2 separate regions of the Homo sapiens genome follow, and region 2 is linked to region 1. The links are contacts of gene promoters, found by promoter capture Hi-C in human tissues and cell types (Jung and others, 2019). All regions are on one chromosome and are shown on one strand. The core of a region is centred on a gene start or on the middle of the fragment in contact, and the rest is flanking DNA. Distances in the headings are between cores, read along the strand shown.

What was found. The method cuts DNA at HindIII sites, captures the fragments that hold promoters and counts their contacts. A contact is called where the count stands out against the background at its distance.
Region 2: a fragment that was not itself captured here is called in contact with the fragment with the promoter of COG1 in region 1 in 2 of the 25 tissues and cell types used here (mesendoderm cells and thymus).

What each region holds. Positions count from the first base shown.
Region 1 is chr17:73,188,636-73,195,887 of GRCh38, reverse strand. COG1 (component of oligomeric golgi complex 1) reads right to left here and starts at 2,833. Exons shown (of 14, transcript NM_018714.3): 1 at 2,504-2,833. The coding sequence starts at 2,818. RefSeq lists a silencer at 2,342-2,551 and enhancers at 2,602-2,881, 3,512-3,561, 2,847-3,606. The HindIII fragment of the contact is 14,916 bases long and covers 1-7,252 here.
Region 2 is chr17:72,792,489-72,799,740 of GRCh38, reverse strand. All of the region lies in intron 6 of SLC39A11 (solute carrier family 39 member 11), which reads left to right. Among named protein-coding and RNA genes, the nearest start is that of LINC00511, 160 kb to the right of the region's middle. The HindIII fragment of the contact is 7,264 bases long and covers 28-7,252 here.

The DNA of each region.
Region 1 (7,252 bases), core at 1,584-4,083:
CAGAACTCCTAGGGTAAATATACACAATTATTTTGGGAATCAAACATCCCGGGTTCCAGTGATTCTCCTGCCTCAGCCTCCTGAGTAGCTGGGATCGCAGGTGCGTGTCGCCACGCCTGGCTAATTTTTGTATTTTCAGTAGAGACAGGGTTTTACCATGTTGGCCAGGCTGGTCTCAAACTCCTGACCTCAAGTGATCCACCGCCTCAGCCTCCCAAAGTGCTGGGATAACAGGCCTGAGCCACCGCGCCCAGCCTTTTTTTTTTTTTTTTTTGGGACAGCATCTCACTTTGTTGCCCAGGCTGGGGTGCAGTGGTGCGATCATGGCTCACTGCAGCCTTGACCTCTTGGGCTCAAGAGATCTTCCCACTTCAGCCTTCCAAGTAGCTGGGACCACAGGCATGTGCCACCATGCCCGCTCACTTTTTGGTATTTTTTGTAGAGATGGTGTTTCACCGTGTTGCCCAGGTTGGTTTCAAACTCCTGTGATCAAGCAATCCACCTGCCTTGGCCTCCCAAAGTGCTGGCATGAGCCACAGCGCCTGACCTGTTATTCTAAATTTTTTTACATTTTTTTCTCGTCAAGTTTCCATGGATTTATTTCCTCGACCAGGTTGTAAGCTCCTTCAGAGCAGGAATTGGGGGACTTCTGTTTCTTTGTAATGTGAACGAAGAAGACACTCAAATTTTTGTAGGGTTAACCGAGAATAAACCAGATATAACAACTATGAAAATCAATACGTTTCTAAAATCAGGCATAATTCAAGTTAGCGTTTTAATAAACCCTGAAGCATGACTCAGTTACAGCAAAGGCTGGCCACCTAAGGGGACACGTGTACTAAATGTTAGCTTTGGGAGGGATGAGGTCACTCATTTCAAAAATATGCAAACTTATTTGCAACTTCCTATAGTTTTATTGTGTCAGTCCAGTCTACTGACCAGGATTTCTGTAAAGCTCAGATAGCATGAACAAGTTCCAAATTGGAGTTAGACTGTACTTTTCAATTTTTTCTTCTATGTCCCAGTAAGTTCTCCCAGGCTGTTAAAAACAACTAACTGTTTACCTTTTTCACCCTTCATGCCCTTTCACTTCGTTCATTGCTAGGTCTATATTCTTTAAGGGGCCGTGCGCGGTGGCTCTCGCGCCTGTAATCCCATCACTTTGGGAGGCCAAGGCAGGCAGATCACATGAGGTCAGGGGTTGGAGACCAGCCGGGCCAATATGGTGAAACCCCGTCTCTACTGAAAGTACAAAAATTAGTCGGACATGGTGGCAGGTGCCTGTAATCCCAGCTACGCGGGTGGCTGAGGCAGGAGAATCGCTTGAACCCGGGAGGCGGAGGTTGCAGTGAGCCGAGATCGCGCCACTGCACTCCAGCCTGGGTGACAGAGCGAGATCCTGTCTCAAAAAATAAAGAAATAAAAATTCTTTTTTTTTTTTTTTTTGAGACAGAGTCTCGCTCTGTGGCCCAGGCTGGAGTGCAGTGGCGCGATCTCGGCTCACTGCAAGCTCCGCCTCCCGGGTTCATGCCATTCTCCTGCCTCAGCCTCCCAGGTAGCTGGGACTACAGGCGCCGGCCACCACGCCTGGCTAATTTTGTGTATTTTTAGTAGAGACGGGGTTTCACCGTGTTAGCCAGGATGGTCTGGATCTCCTGACCTCGTGATCCACCCGCCTCGGCCTCCCAAAGTGCTGGGATTACAGGCGTGAGCCACCGCACCCGGCCAATAAAAATTCTTTAGGAACGCAAGCTGCAGCTCCAATATGAGGATGTGTTTGTTTACCTCCCATCCTTCCTCATTGTGTCTAATCAATAGCGTTTGGGGGGAAGAACACGGGATAAGGAGAACCTGAATGAAAAAAGCCTTAGTTCTGAAAATGAAAATGTTCAGCTATTAAAAGGTAAGGGCTTGGCCGGCTGTGGTGGCTCATGACTGTAATCCCAGCACTTTGGGAGACCCTGTCACATACATACATAAAGTTAAGGGCTTGATAGCTGGTACCCTCAACAACTCCCAAAGGGTAGAACAGCTATTTGGGGTTGTGGAAGTTATTCTTGGGGAGATAAGGGGAAGGTTGGGATGAGGAAGAAATGACTTGGAGTGCAGGTGTCAACATAGGGGAGAAACCTGAGGAAAAACAATGTCAGGACATGTTATATAGGTGAGCGTTGAACTGTCAAGACAGAAACTCCTGGCGTTTTCCGCTAAAATTGAAAGGAGCCCAGTGAGGTGTAGGAATCAAGGCCCGGAAGTCGGGGGAAAGCGCCTGAAGAAACTGTTGAATGGCATTTCCAGAACGGATCAGCAGCCGCATATGTGCAAGGAAGGCTGGCACTGTCCTCTGAGGGGGGCCCAAAGGGTGAGGGGCGGATAGGCTCCTGGCTAAGGAAGGTGAGGACTCGCGGGGTCTGGGACTGACAGAGGGGGGCGGGGTTGACCTGCAAGGCCAGGGGCTCCGGGACCCGCCTGCGGGTCGCAGGGTGGGGGCACGGGGACTGACCTGCTGGGCCCGCGGTGGCCGGGGCGCGGCCGAGCCGGCCTGGCGGAGGCGGGCGCAGTACTGGTCGGTGGCCTTCACGGCGTCCACTAGCCCCACGGCGCAGCGGCGCATCTGGCCGATGGTGTCGGCCGCCTCGATCAGGTCGCGGTACCGTTCGCCCACCATCTGCCGCAGCTCCTCCTTCTTGTGCTCGATCTCGGCCCGAACCTGGCGCTCCAGCCCGCGGATCTCCTCCGCTCCATGCGTCTCGAAAAGAGCCGCAGGGTCGCGCAGATCCAGCCGCTTCAGCGCGGGTGAGGTTGCCGCGGTGGCCATGGTGCACTCGTCAGCCCCCGGCGATCTACCTACGCCCTTTTAGTCCCGCCCCCTCCGCCATCTTCGTTGGGGGCGGAAGCGCTTCCGCCCCGCCGGGGGCCATGTTTGTTACCCGAGGGGGCGGGCGCGAGGGGGCGGGCGCGAGGGGGCGGGCGCGAGGGGGCGGGCGCGAGGGGGCGGGCGCGAGGGGGCGGGCGCGAGGGGGCGGGCGCGAGGGGGCGGGGGCGGGCGCGGGCGCGGGGGCGGGCGCGGTCCTGCGCGGGGTTTTCTTAAACGGAGCCGGCTGGGAAGTGAGGTCGCCAGAGAGGTGAGGTCGCCAGGTTGGCTGCGAAACTGTGGCTGAAGTCTTCCCTTTCCCTTAGGAGCAGAGCTTCTCTGTGGAGTTAGGTGTCGGGATCGGGCCCCGCGGACTGACGGCGTTGGCGCAGGCGCAGCCGCCGCTCTCCGCGCGCCTGGCGCCCGCGAGCAGACTCGGGCGCGCTCGCCGCCGCTGGGTCTCGGATCGCACCCCGCGTGCAGTTTTAGGAAGAGGGACATCCGCGCCCCTCGCTGTTCCCCGGGAAGAGCTACCACGCCGCCCCTGAAGGGGTTCTGAGCGCTTGTTTGGCGTCTGCTTTTCCTCTGCTGTTGATTCGTGTTGGAGGTTTTCCATTTCGTTTAAAACCGATGTTTAGCCCCTGAAGACGTTTTCCCTGCGAGAGCCTGACCTTGGTGGCCATGGGGGAGGAGGGCGGCGGGCTGGGCGGGAGAGGCTGGGACGCCCCGGGGAACGCAGCGCCAGACGGGTGGGCGCTCCTCACGTGGCCCAGGAATAGTAGAATCTGGAGATTGTGGCTTGTTTCTGCTAAGTCCCAGACCCTTCTTTTTTTTTTTTTCTGTTTTAATTTCTTTTGGAAGATTTCACCCACACCAGTGTCGACAAAATGATGCAATGTGCGCAGCGGCCATGCTGAGCCCCCAGCAACTCAGGGCCTACCCTGCATCCCTGCTCATTCCCTCTCCCACCCGCCACCTCCGGACGCACAGAATTTCAATCTGCAAATAAATGGTGCATTTATAATATTCCAGTTTAACCCGCAAGAGCCTTGCGGCGTAGGGAGTATCATTCTCACTTTACAGACTCATTTTACAGATGGGGAAACGGGGGCCCGGAGAGGCAAAGGGTTTTTTACTCAGTAAAAGTGCAGTTTTCAGAGCCTGTCCACGAGATTATCTCATTTTCTCGCACATCGGCCATGCCAGGTAGGTAGGAGTAATATTCCTAGTCCATTTATGAGGAAAAAAAAAAAAGAAACAAAAGCTTATTTACCTGCCCAAATTACATAGCTGATAGGTGACCCAGTGAGTATTTGGACGTCGATTTTTAAATTACTGGCTCGCGCTCTTTTCTACGTTTTCACATAATTTCCCACAGAGCACCCTCTGTTGGCAGGCCTGCAGTTTGCAGTCTCTAATCCCATTCTGCAAGGGACACTTACTGGTATTCGGCTGATAAGCATCCGCAGTATCTCCTTTCTGTGATTGGGGAATTCATCGCTATCTAGCAAAATCTTTTTTTCTGGCGCCCTTTATAGCTACGGTGCCAGCCTGCGGCCTGGGACTGGCACAGCAGGCACAAGCGCCTAGGACTTGGGTGAAGAGTTAGTGACATTAAGAAGCAGGCTGTAATCCCAGCACTTTGGGAGCCCAAGGCGTGTGGATCCCTTGAGCCCAGGAGTTCAAGACCAGCCTGGGCAACACGGCCAAACCCCGTCCTTACAAAAAAATACAAAAAAAGGGGCGCGCGCCGGGTGGCTCATGCCTGTAATCCCAGCACTTTGGGAGGCCGAGGCAGGCGGATCACATGAGGTCAGGAGTTCGAGACCAGCCTGGCCAACATGGTGATACCCTGTCTCTACTAAAAATACAAAAATTAGCTGGGCGTGGTGGCGCACATCTATAATCCCAGCTACTCGGGAGGCTGAGGCAGCAGACAGGAAGCTGAGGCAGGAGAATCACTTGAACCTGGGAGACGGAGGTTGCAGTGAGCCGAGATCGAGACACTGCACTCCAGCCTGAGCGACAGAGTGAGGCTCCGTCTCAAAAAAAAAAAGAAAAAGAAAATTAGCCGGGAGTAGTGGTGTGGGCCTGTGGACCTGTAGTCCCAGCCACTTGACAAGAGGCAAGTGAGGCAAGAGGATCACTTGAGCCTCTGGAGGTCGAGACTGCGTCAGTGAGCCATGATTGGGCCACTGCATTCCAGCCTAGACAACAGAACAAGACCCTGTCTCAAAAAAAAAAAAAAAAAAAAATCGCAGGTGACAGGGGCGATTGCATTTTGGTGGTGGCACAGGTATCACCGGCAACATCCACTCCCTAAGGACAGCAAGGGCAGTGAACTTAGCTCCAGCTCCCAGCTGCTAATGCTGGCGGTGGTGCTGGTGGCAGCCGTGGGCACCCACAATGACGTCCTCGACAGAATCACCATGTGGTGTGCTCGTCTAGGTTTTAAATGTTCTGTTTCCCTTCCTTCCTTCCTGCCTGTCCCCTGAACCTGCCTCCCCATCTTTCCCAGAGATTCTATGAACTGTGCAGTGTCTTACTGATCAATTTTGTTTCTTTGAAAATCAAAATCGGTTTCCCTGGTTTGCCCTAGCCCTAACTGATATACACTGCACTAAGGTTCCAGCTCCATGAGAGTTTGGTTGAAGCCTTTCTTACAGCAAGGGGAGAAATGTCAACATATCAGGGATAGTGGGGGGCCCAGGGCTTTGTATGGGATGGTCCTTGCGCTTGTGCACAATACCTGTAAGCTCAGGTAGAGAAAAGACAAACTGGCCAGCTGTCAACACTGCAGTGTGTGTGTGTGTGTGTGTGTGTGTGTGTGTGTGTGTTCTGAGTCAGGTAGAGAAAAGACAAACTGGCCAGCTGTCAACACTGCAGTGTGTGTGTGTGTCTGTGTGTGTTTGTGTGTGTTCTGAGACAGGGTCTCACTGTTGCCCAGGCTGGAGTGCAGGGGTGCAATCACGGCTCACTGAAGCCTCCACCTCTTGGGCTCAAGCAATCCTCCCACCTCTGCCTCCCTAGTAGCTGGGATTAACAGGTGTGCACCACCATGCCCGGCTAATTTTTTAATTTTTGTGTAAAGACAGGGCCTCACTCTGTTGCCCAGGCTGGTCTCAAACTCTTGGGCTAGAGGGATCCTCCCACCTCAGCCTCCCAAAGTGCTCGGGTTACAGGTGTGAGCCACCTCACCTAGTCCAGAGTGTGGTTTGAAATCAGGGTGTTCCCTGCCTTTCCTCTGTATTTCCCTGGCCAAGTTCATCTGACTGGCCTGAAGATGCCACTGTTGTTCCTCTGCCTGCAGAACTGAGCACTGACAGAAGCTGTCACCTGACTGCCTGGTCACTGGAAAAGCTCCTGGCCCTGGAGGAAATGTGTCTTTAACTCTTTCCTCTCCATGGCTCCTTTCCTTGTCCTCTGCCTCCCAGGACAGCACCACCCCCTTCCTCTGCCTTCTGCATATCAGCTGGGACCATCAAAACCACGGATCAGGGGCAAAGACCTCAGCTGCCACAGCCGGGCCAGGCACTGTGCCGGGGACAGCAAGACAGAGATGAGAACCTGGAGCCTTTTTTTCTCAAGGTATTAGGAGGTACCTGAGTGAAAGAGGCACCTTTTCGCCTTATTGCCATAGTTTAGTTCTGGTATAGGGATGAGTTCATGTGTGTTGTGTGATAACCTTTAGCATCAAGCAACCTGCGTGAGTTCACACAGGTGCCTGTCTTCAGATCCCCTGGCTCTAGAAGTCCTTGATCTTTCTACATTGTCACATTATTAGCTTCAAAGAAAATTTCAGAATATCAAGAAACAGATGGCTCAAACAATTCTGAGCACCATTCGGATGGTACCCACACTGCTTCCTGATCTCTGCCTAAGGGTGGGTCTCTACAGTCAGTTTGGGCACCCAAGTTGGAGTGGCTATCCAGTGATTTGGGGGCAGATGACACATGGGGTGGCCATGCCTGGTAGCCAAGCATCTGCATGCTGGAGGGCAGTCTTTCAACACAGTGGATATATTCTGACATTTTAGTTTCTTTAGACCCATCGGCACACTCTTTTTTTTTTTTTTTTTTTGAGACGGAGTCTCACTCTGTTTCCCAGGCTGGAGAGCAGTGGCATGATCTCAGCTCGCTGCAGCCTTCCCATCCCAGGCTCAAGCAGTTCTCGTGCCTCAGTCTCCCAAGTAGCTGGGACTACAGGCGCGCACTACCACACCCGGCTAATTTTTTGTATTTTTAGTAGAGACAGGGTTTCACCATTTTGGCCATGCTGGTCTCAAACTCCTGACCTCAGGTGGTCTGCCCGCCTGAGCCTCCCAAAGTGTTGGGATTACAGGCATGAGCCACAGCGCCCAGTCCTGATCAGTATAGTCTTATTCAGAACATTGAGCAG
Region 2 (7,252 bases), core at 2,410-4,909, 400 kb after region 1:
AAAACAGGGTTCGAGAGCAGAGAACCGGTCTGACCACAAATTTACCAGGGCAGTTTTTCCCCACCCTAGTAAGCCTGAGGGTACTGCAGGAGACCAGGGCGTATCTCAGTCCTTATCTCAACTGCATAAGACAGACACTCCCAGAGTGGCCATTTATAGATCTCCCCCCAGGAATGCATTCCTTTCCCAGGGTATTAATATTAATATTCCTTGCTAGGAAAAGAATTTAGCAATATCTTCCCTACTTGCACGTCTGTTTATAGGCTCTCTGCAAGAAGAAAAATATGGCTTTTTTTGCCCGACCCCACAGGCAGTCAGACCTTATGGTTGTCTTCCCTTGTTCCCTAAAAATCGCTGTTATTCTGTTCTTTTTCAAGGTGCCCTGATTTCATATTGTTCAAACAGACATGTTTTACAATCAATTTGTACAGTTAACACAATTATCACAGTGGTCCCGAGGTGACATACATCCTCAGCTTACAAAGATAACAGGATTAAGAGATTAAAGACAAGACAGGCATAAGAAATTATAAAAGTATTATTTGGGAACTGATAAATGCCCATGAAATCTTCACAATTTATGTTCCTCTGCCACAGCTCCAGCTGGTCCCTCCGTTTGGGGTCCCTGACTTCCTGCAACAGACATGCATGCAACCATACATGTGCACACTCACAGACACACACACTCACGTCCAAGTGCACAAGTCAAAACCTTGCCAGCTCCTCTCCCCTCCTCCACCAACCCATGGTCCTCTTCTTCTCCCTATCTTTGGCCTTCTTGTGCCCTCTCAGATTTTCAGCTCTCTTCTCAATTCTCTACATCTGGGCCTGCCTTCCTTCCCAAAGATGCCACTCATGATTTTCCTCCCCCAGCTAGATGCTGACAGTTTGCTCTGGACTGAATGCTTGTGTCCCTCACCCATTCATATTGTGAAGCCTTAGCCCCCAGTGTGATGGTATTTGGAGAAGGGGCCTTTGGGAGGTGATTAGGTTTAGATGAGGTGAGGAGGGTGGGGCCCCCTTGGTGAGATTAGTGTTCTTATAAGAAGTGGGACAGGCTGGGTGTGGTGGTTCATGCCTGTAATCCCAGCACTTTGGGAGACCAAGGTGGGTGGATCACCTGAGGTCAGAATTTCGAGACCAGCCTGACCAACGTGGTGAAACCCCTGCATGGTGGTGGGTGCCTGTAATCCCAGCTACTCGGGAGGCTGAGGTCGGAGAATTGCATGAACCTGGAAGGCAGAGGTTGCAGAGAGCTGAGATCGTGCCATTGCACTTCAGACTGGGCAACAGAGTGAGGCTCCATCTCAAAAAAAAAAAAAGAAAGAAAGAAGTGGAAGAGACCAGAGCTCAGTCTCTCTCTCTGTTCACCATGTGAGGACACAGTGGAAGGTGGCTCTTTGCAAGCCTGAAGATTACTCACCAAGAACATGACCATGCTGGCACACTGAGCTCAGACTTCCAGCCTCCAGAACCGCTCTACACATTTCTGTCATTTAAGCCCCTCCGTCTGTGGTACTTTGTTATAACAGCGTGAGCAGACTAAGACACATTTCAATATACTGGGGCATTTCACACTCAACACACATAACCTGAAGTTGCCTCCTCTCCTCCCCACCAGTAACCCTACTTCTCCTAGTGATACACCCATCTCCACGTGCCCAAACGGGAAGGCTCAGCATGATTCCAGCCCTCTCCTTCCAACATCTGCACTCACTAAGTCTGTGGTCACGTCTGTCCTTTCTCCTTTTCTCGTCACTCCCATGAGTGCATGAGAGAGAAACCAAGAGCAAGACATAGCCTCCCTGGGTGATAGGAAATGTACTCCTAGGCTGCCAGATGCTAGATGCAAACTCCTTCTTCTAGACTTCCCCTTCAGCCTCATGGGTCAGTGCCCCCCAGCACGAAGCATCCCCCAGAGGCAGCATTAGGAAGTGGTTATGAGCACATTGGAATAAAGGATCTGGGTCCAGGTTCTGGCTGTGCCACCTGCGAGCTTAGATTGGACACTTGATATCCCTAAACTTCAGCTCCATCCTCTGCAGAGCCGGGCCACGATGGTGTGCATCCCGTGAGTTAGTGGGGTATTAGACGAGGTAGTGCATGTCAAGTGCCTGGCTTGGTAGATGAGGCTGCTGGTATTAGAATGTGTGCACCACAGTCAATTCGCCCTCCTCAACCCTTTACTTGGCCCTGTCTTCCATTATTCCCCCAAGCAAATAGAGCCTTTCCTTGCCAGTACCCCATCTTTTAAATTAGCCCTCATCTAATGCTACCTTCTTCTTGCCTGATCATCTTCATGGAAGATGGAAGGAGGAGGAAGGAGAGACACTCAAGTGCCTTTACCTGCCAGTAGTTACTCTATTCCTTATCTTAGTCAGTGTTCCTACAACCCCATTTCACAGATGTGGACACTGAGCCCTGCAGAGGCTCCGTATTGCCTCCAGCAGTAGAATAGATGGGTTGGCATTCCTCAGGGACATGGCTACTATTATTTATTATTATTAACACTAGCATAGCCTCTTGAGCTGCTTTGGATGGCGGGTATTTGTGCACAAGTCTTACATCCTCAGCAAGATGGTAAACCCCTTGTAGGTAGATTCTTGTTTTGTATTAGGCACATTGAACATGGAACAATGTGTGAGATACACGCTCCTCACACACAGGCACTTTCAAGCTACAACACTGTTGCAGGAATCACGAAGTTCAAGCTCTGACTCCCTCAGGAAAGTTCAGGGACGGCCCCATCCTAGGGACAGCTCCCTTCTGACACATGCTGTACACATCACTTCTTTGGCACTTGCCACCTTGTATTGCATTCTCGGTCATCATTTCGTCTGTGTGTTATGCCCACAGGTAACTTTGAAAATCAGGGCTGGGTTGTCACATCTTCTTGCATACTTAGCACTTCACAGTATCGAGCATGTCAGTGAAACCCCTGCGTGGTGGTGGGTGCCTGTAATCCCAGCTACTCAGGAGGCTGAGGTGGGAGAATTGCACTTAGTCAGTGCTAAGTCAGCATCGAATTTGAGGTGGTGATGCTGCTGGATTTGTGTGTGTGTGGTTTGCTCTGGGCACAGCGTGCCCCCTCCAGGGCCTAGGTCTCGTTTTTTCAGCTGCCTGTTGAAACGTGCTTTCTGCTCATGATTCTGTCTTCCCTTTCCCCTCTGTTCTCCTTTGCCACTCGCCCTTCCCCTCACCTGGCATGCCCTGGGCTGTGCCTGCAGGGGCCAAGCTCAGACTGCTGTGTGGTTGATCCTGGAAGCCCAGCTCCACGGGGAGGGTGTATTTCCAAGAATCTGTAGCAGTGGTCTTGGGAATAGGAGCGCAGCAAAAAGCCCTCCTTCTCATGCATATAGAGTGACCCCACCAGCAGAAGCCAGGAAAAACCTACTGGCTGGCTTCCCTGGGTGCTGTTGATGGGAGTGTGTGGATTTGAAGCCTGTCGCTACCAAGAGGACGATGAGAGAAGCCTCGCTTGATAAAGGAGATGTGACTTCCCGGCTCTTCTGTCTCGTGTGTTGGAAAATAGGTTTTCTGTTTTACCAGCAGCCTGCTGAGCCAGTCTAAGGAGTTTCCTGCTGCCTGAGGCTCAGCCCAGGGCTTCATCCTCATAACTCAGAGTATGTGAGCTGCAGTCCTAGCAAATGGAGGCTGGTTGGCCTGCTGCTCTGAATTTGTATTTCATTATCTTAGCATTGCACTGTATAAAAATTCTTGCAATTTTGACCTCTTTGTTGTAGTCATTTTCTATATACTATTTCTTCTCCCCCCAGTATTCTTCCCTCTTTCATTTGTTATTTGCTCATTTGCTTATTCATCCAATAAATATCTCTTGAGCCCCTGTTACATACCAAATGGTGTGCTATTCACCAGGGATATAGCTTATAATAGTCCTTGTCTTCCTGAAGCCTTGGATTTAGAAAGAGAGACTGATAGTACCCTGCAGATTACACACATAATTGGTTAATTGCCTCTGTGACAAGTAGTAAGAAGCCGAGGCATGGTGTGCTATGACCACTGAGCCACCTCACAGGGAATTTTGAACTCTTCTGTTGGGAGGATGGGTGGTTTTAATAATATGTCCAGAAATCTGTTAATATCATCCCTTCAAGAAATAGAGCAATAGAGCCTAATTCTCCTTCTCCAGTGTGTGCTAGACTTCTCAGTGGTTCACTTCTAACAAATAGGAAAAAGCAAAAGTGATGGTGTGCGACCTTAGAGTTGAGGTCAAGTGAAGTCTCTGTGGCTTCCATCTTGGTTGCTCTGTTGTGCTATCACTGTCTTGCTCTCTTGCACTCTCTCTCTCTCTTTCTCTGTCATGTCTTGCTCTGTGGGAAGCCAGCTGCCATGTTATCAGCAGCCCTGTGTCTTTAAGGCAAACCTATGATGCCAAGGGACTGAAACTCCAAGCCAGCAGCTGCACAGGTGAGCTTGGAAGTGGATCCTTCAGCCCCACTCAAGCCTTCTGATGACAACAGCCCAGGCTACTGTCATGACTGAAGCCTCATGACAGACCCCGAGCCAGGGCCATCCAGCTAAGCCCCTCCTGGATTCTGAGTCTCAGAGACTGAGACCATACAGGATTATTGGTATGAGCCACCAAATTTGCAGGGAAGATGTTATACAGCAGTAGATTGTTAATACAGGGCATGAGGGAGATAAATTATTTGATACTCTGCGTACCTGAAAATGTTATCATAACTTCACTTTGGGCTGATAACTTGACTGTGGATAGAATCTTCTTTCACAGTCGGAGGTCCTCTGCCCTCAGAATTCTGGTGGCATTCATCCCTCATATCCAGTGTGGATGCTAATGTCGTGGATGTTGACAGGTCTTGTGCCTTTCTTTCCCCATCCCTGACCCACAGAAACAGTGTGAGATAGTCAATGTGTGTTGTTTTGAGCTGCTAAATGTTGGGTACCTTGTTATACAGCAAAAGATAATTAATTCAGAGGGGCAGAGAGGAGGCACTTGCTGGAGGAAATGAAAGTCACCCTGGGACTTGAAGGAAGAGAATAAATTGGCCAGGTGAAGAGATGGGAAGAGGGAGGCGAGTGTCCCAGGCTAAGGGCATAGCACACACAAAGCCCTGCACAAGTAAGGTGCTAATGAGATGCAGGAAAAGAAGGGAGGACTGGACAGTTTGAGTGTAGAGAAGGAGGGAGCAGGGAGTGGCTTGGACACAGCTGGGGATATAGGCAGAGGACAGGACACCGGGGCCTTGGGGACCATGATAAGCACTTTGCACTTCATCTTTAGAGTGATGAGAAGAAACGAAGGCTTCAGTCAGGGGAACAATATTATCAGATTTTCTCACTCAATTAGAAAAATGATTGGCTGGGACCCAACAGAAGGATTGTGGAGTCAGTGTGAGTCCTCACCGCGCTCGCTGGCTTGGTGGGGGCTGGTTGCCTCTGCTGTATTCTCCAAGGCTTTGCTGCCTTTTCTCCAGCAAGCTCCTTTCTTATGATGGGTGATTTGTACTCATGGACTGTGTGATGGTGATGAGCAGGAGCTTCTGAATTTCCTTTCTAGGTGAGAGCAGGTGCTGGGACCCATTGTGAGCTGTGTACAGTGACTGTTCCCAGGCGTTCCCATCAGCTCCAAGGTGCAAAATCTCATTTTCTCAGGATGGGTAAAGCTTCTCTCAGGAGAATGCCACAAACCTCAGGCAGAGCCTGATGCTAACAATGGCCTAGATTTTGAAGGCTGTTATTACAGTTAGAGGCAGGACTATGGGTCCCTCAAGCTTTCTTTCAACCTGAAGACTCTTTGTTCTTCTCTGTATACTGGCCGGTGTGGTATCAGCTGTGTCATTTGTAACCCAGCCTTGCTGTGAAGGGGGAGAAAGGATACAGGAGTCAGGTTCTGCAACTGCCAAGGTACACTCCCCTAGCCTTAATCTTAGAGAAGCAGAATTTGTTGATCATTGTTATTCATTTCCTTTCTGGGCACTGTATTCCATTAATTCAGATAGAACGATGTGCACATCAAGAGGCATTTTCCAGACTGGGTGTGGCAGCTCACGCCTGTAATCCCAACACTTTGGGAGGCTGAGGCAGGAATATTGCTTGAGGCCAGGAGTTTGAGACCAGCCTGGGTAACATAGCGAGACCCCATCTCTGTGTTTTTAAAAAAAAATTAAAAAAAGAAGCATTTCCCTCTTAAAAGCTAGAAATCTGGTACCCTTAGTCCTTTTCCTCCCTGTCTATTTCTCTATTCCACGCAATCCAATCTGCCATCACATGTTATACATTGTATGAAAGAAAGAAAATCTCTCCCTTTCAAACATAAACACCTTAGGGTACCAGGCAATTCATGTAAACACAGCAAGTCAGCTAATAAAAGACAGTAGGGAGGGGTGGGGTCTGTGGCTAACTGGAGAATGCTTTCTCAGCTCTAGGACTTAAGATGTGCCAGCCAAAACCTGTCTGTCACCCTTGTTGCATGGCACCCTGGGAATCTGTGACCCTGCCTCTCTTCTTTGATCATCCTGCTTCTCTGTCTCAGGGTGTACAATAGCCTTTGTCTGGTGCTTTGCCATAAGCCCATCCTCATTCTAGCTTTTCCCACACCATCCCCCAGAATTATCTTCCTAAAATGGCAAATCTGCTCCTCACTCCCTGACTTACAGGCCTCTGTTGACTGACCAGAGCCTCCAGGATGCAGTCCAAACACCTTGGGAATGAATATAAAGCCTTTTGTAATTTGCCCGAAATGCTCTGTTTGTATTTTTGTCCCTCGCCCCCACCCCGCCGGCAGTAGGGAGCATCCTGAGCCTTGTTTTGATGTTATCTTTGTGTGTCTGGTCCTAACATAGTCTCTGCAAAAAGAGTCAGTGCCATATGCTAGTGAATGAATGTGTTTGTGCATGCTGCGCACAATGGGCAGTGTTTATGTCCTTATTAATTTCCAGTGGGGTGTGTGGAGGAGCTGGTGAAGGAGATGCAACCCCCATATAAAGGAGCATTTAAGTCAGTGGGGGAAGACCCCTGACCTTAACCTCCCACAGCCTCCGCGACCTGGCCTGCATATTGACCCAGGAGGGATCATGGCAGTTCTTACAGAGGTGTGCAGTGTGCCTTGATTAAAGACAGTGGGAGACAGGATAGAACTGTGATTTAAAACTAGAGCGTGGACTCTGGAGCACAGGAGCTTGGGTTCAAATGCTAGCTCTATCACCTCCTCTCTCATACTTTCTAAGGCCTGAAATTTCATGTGCTTCCTTGACACCTTGGAGCCTCACAA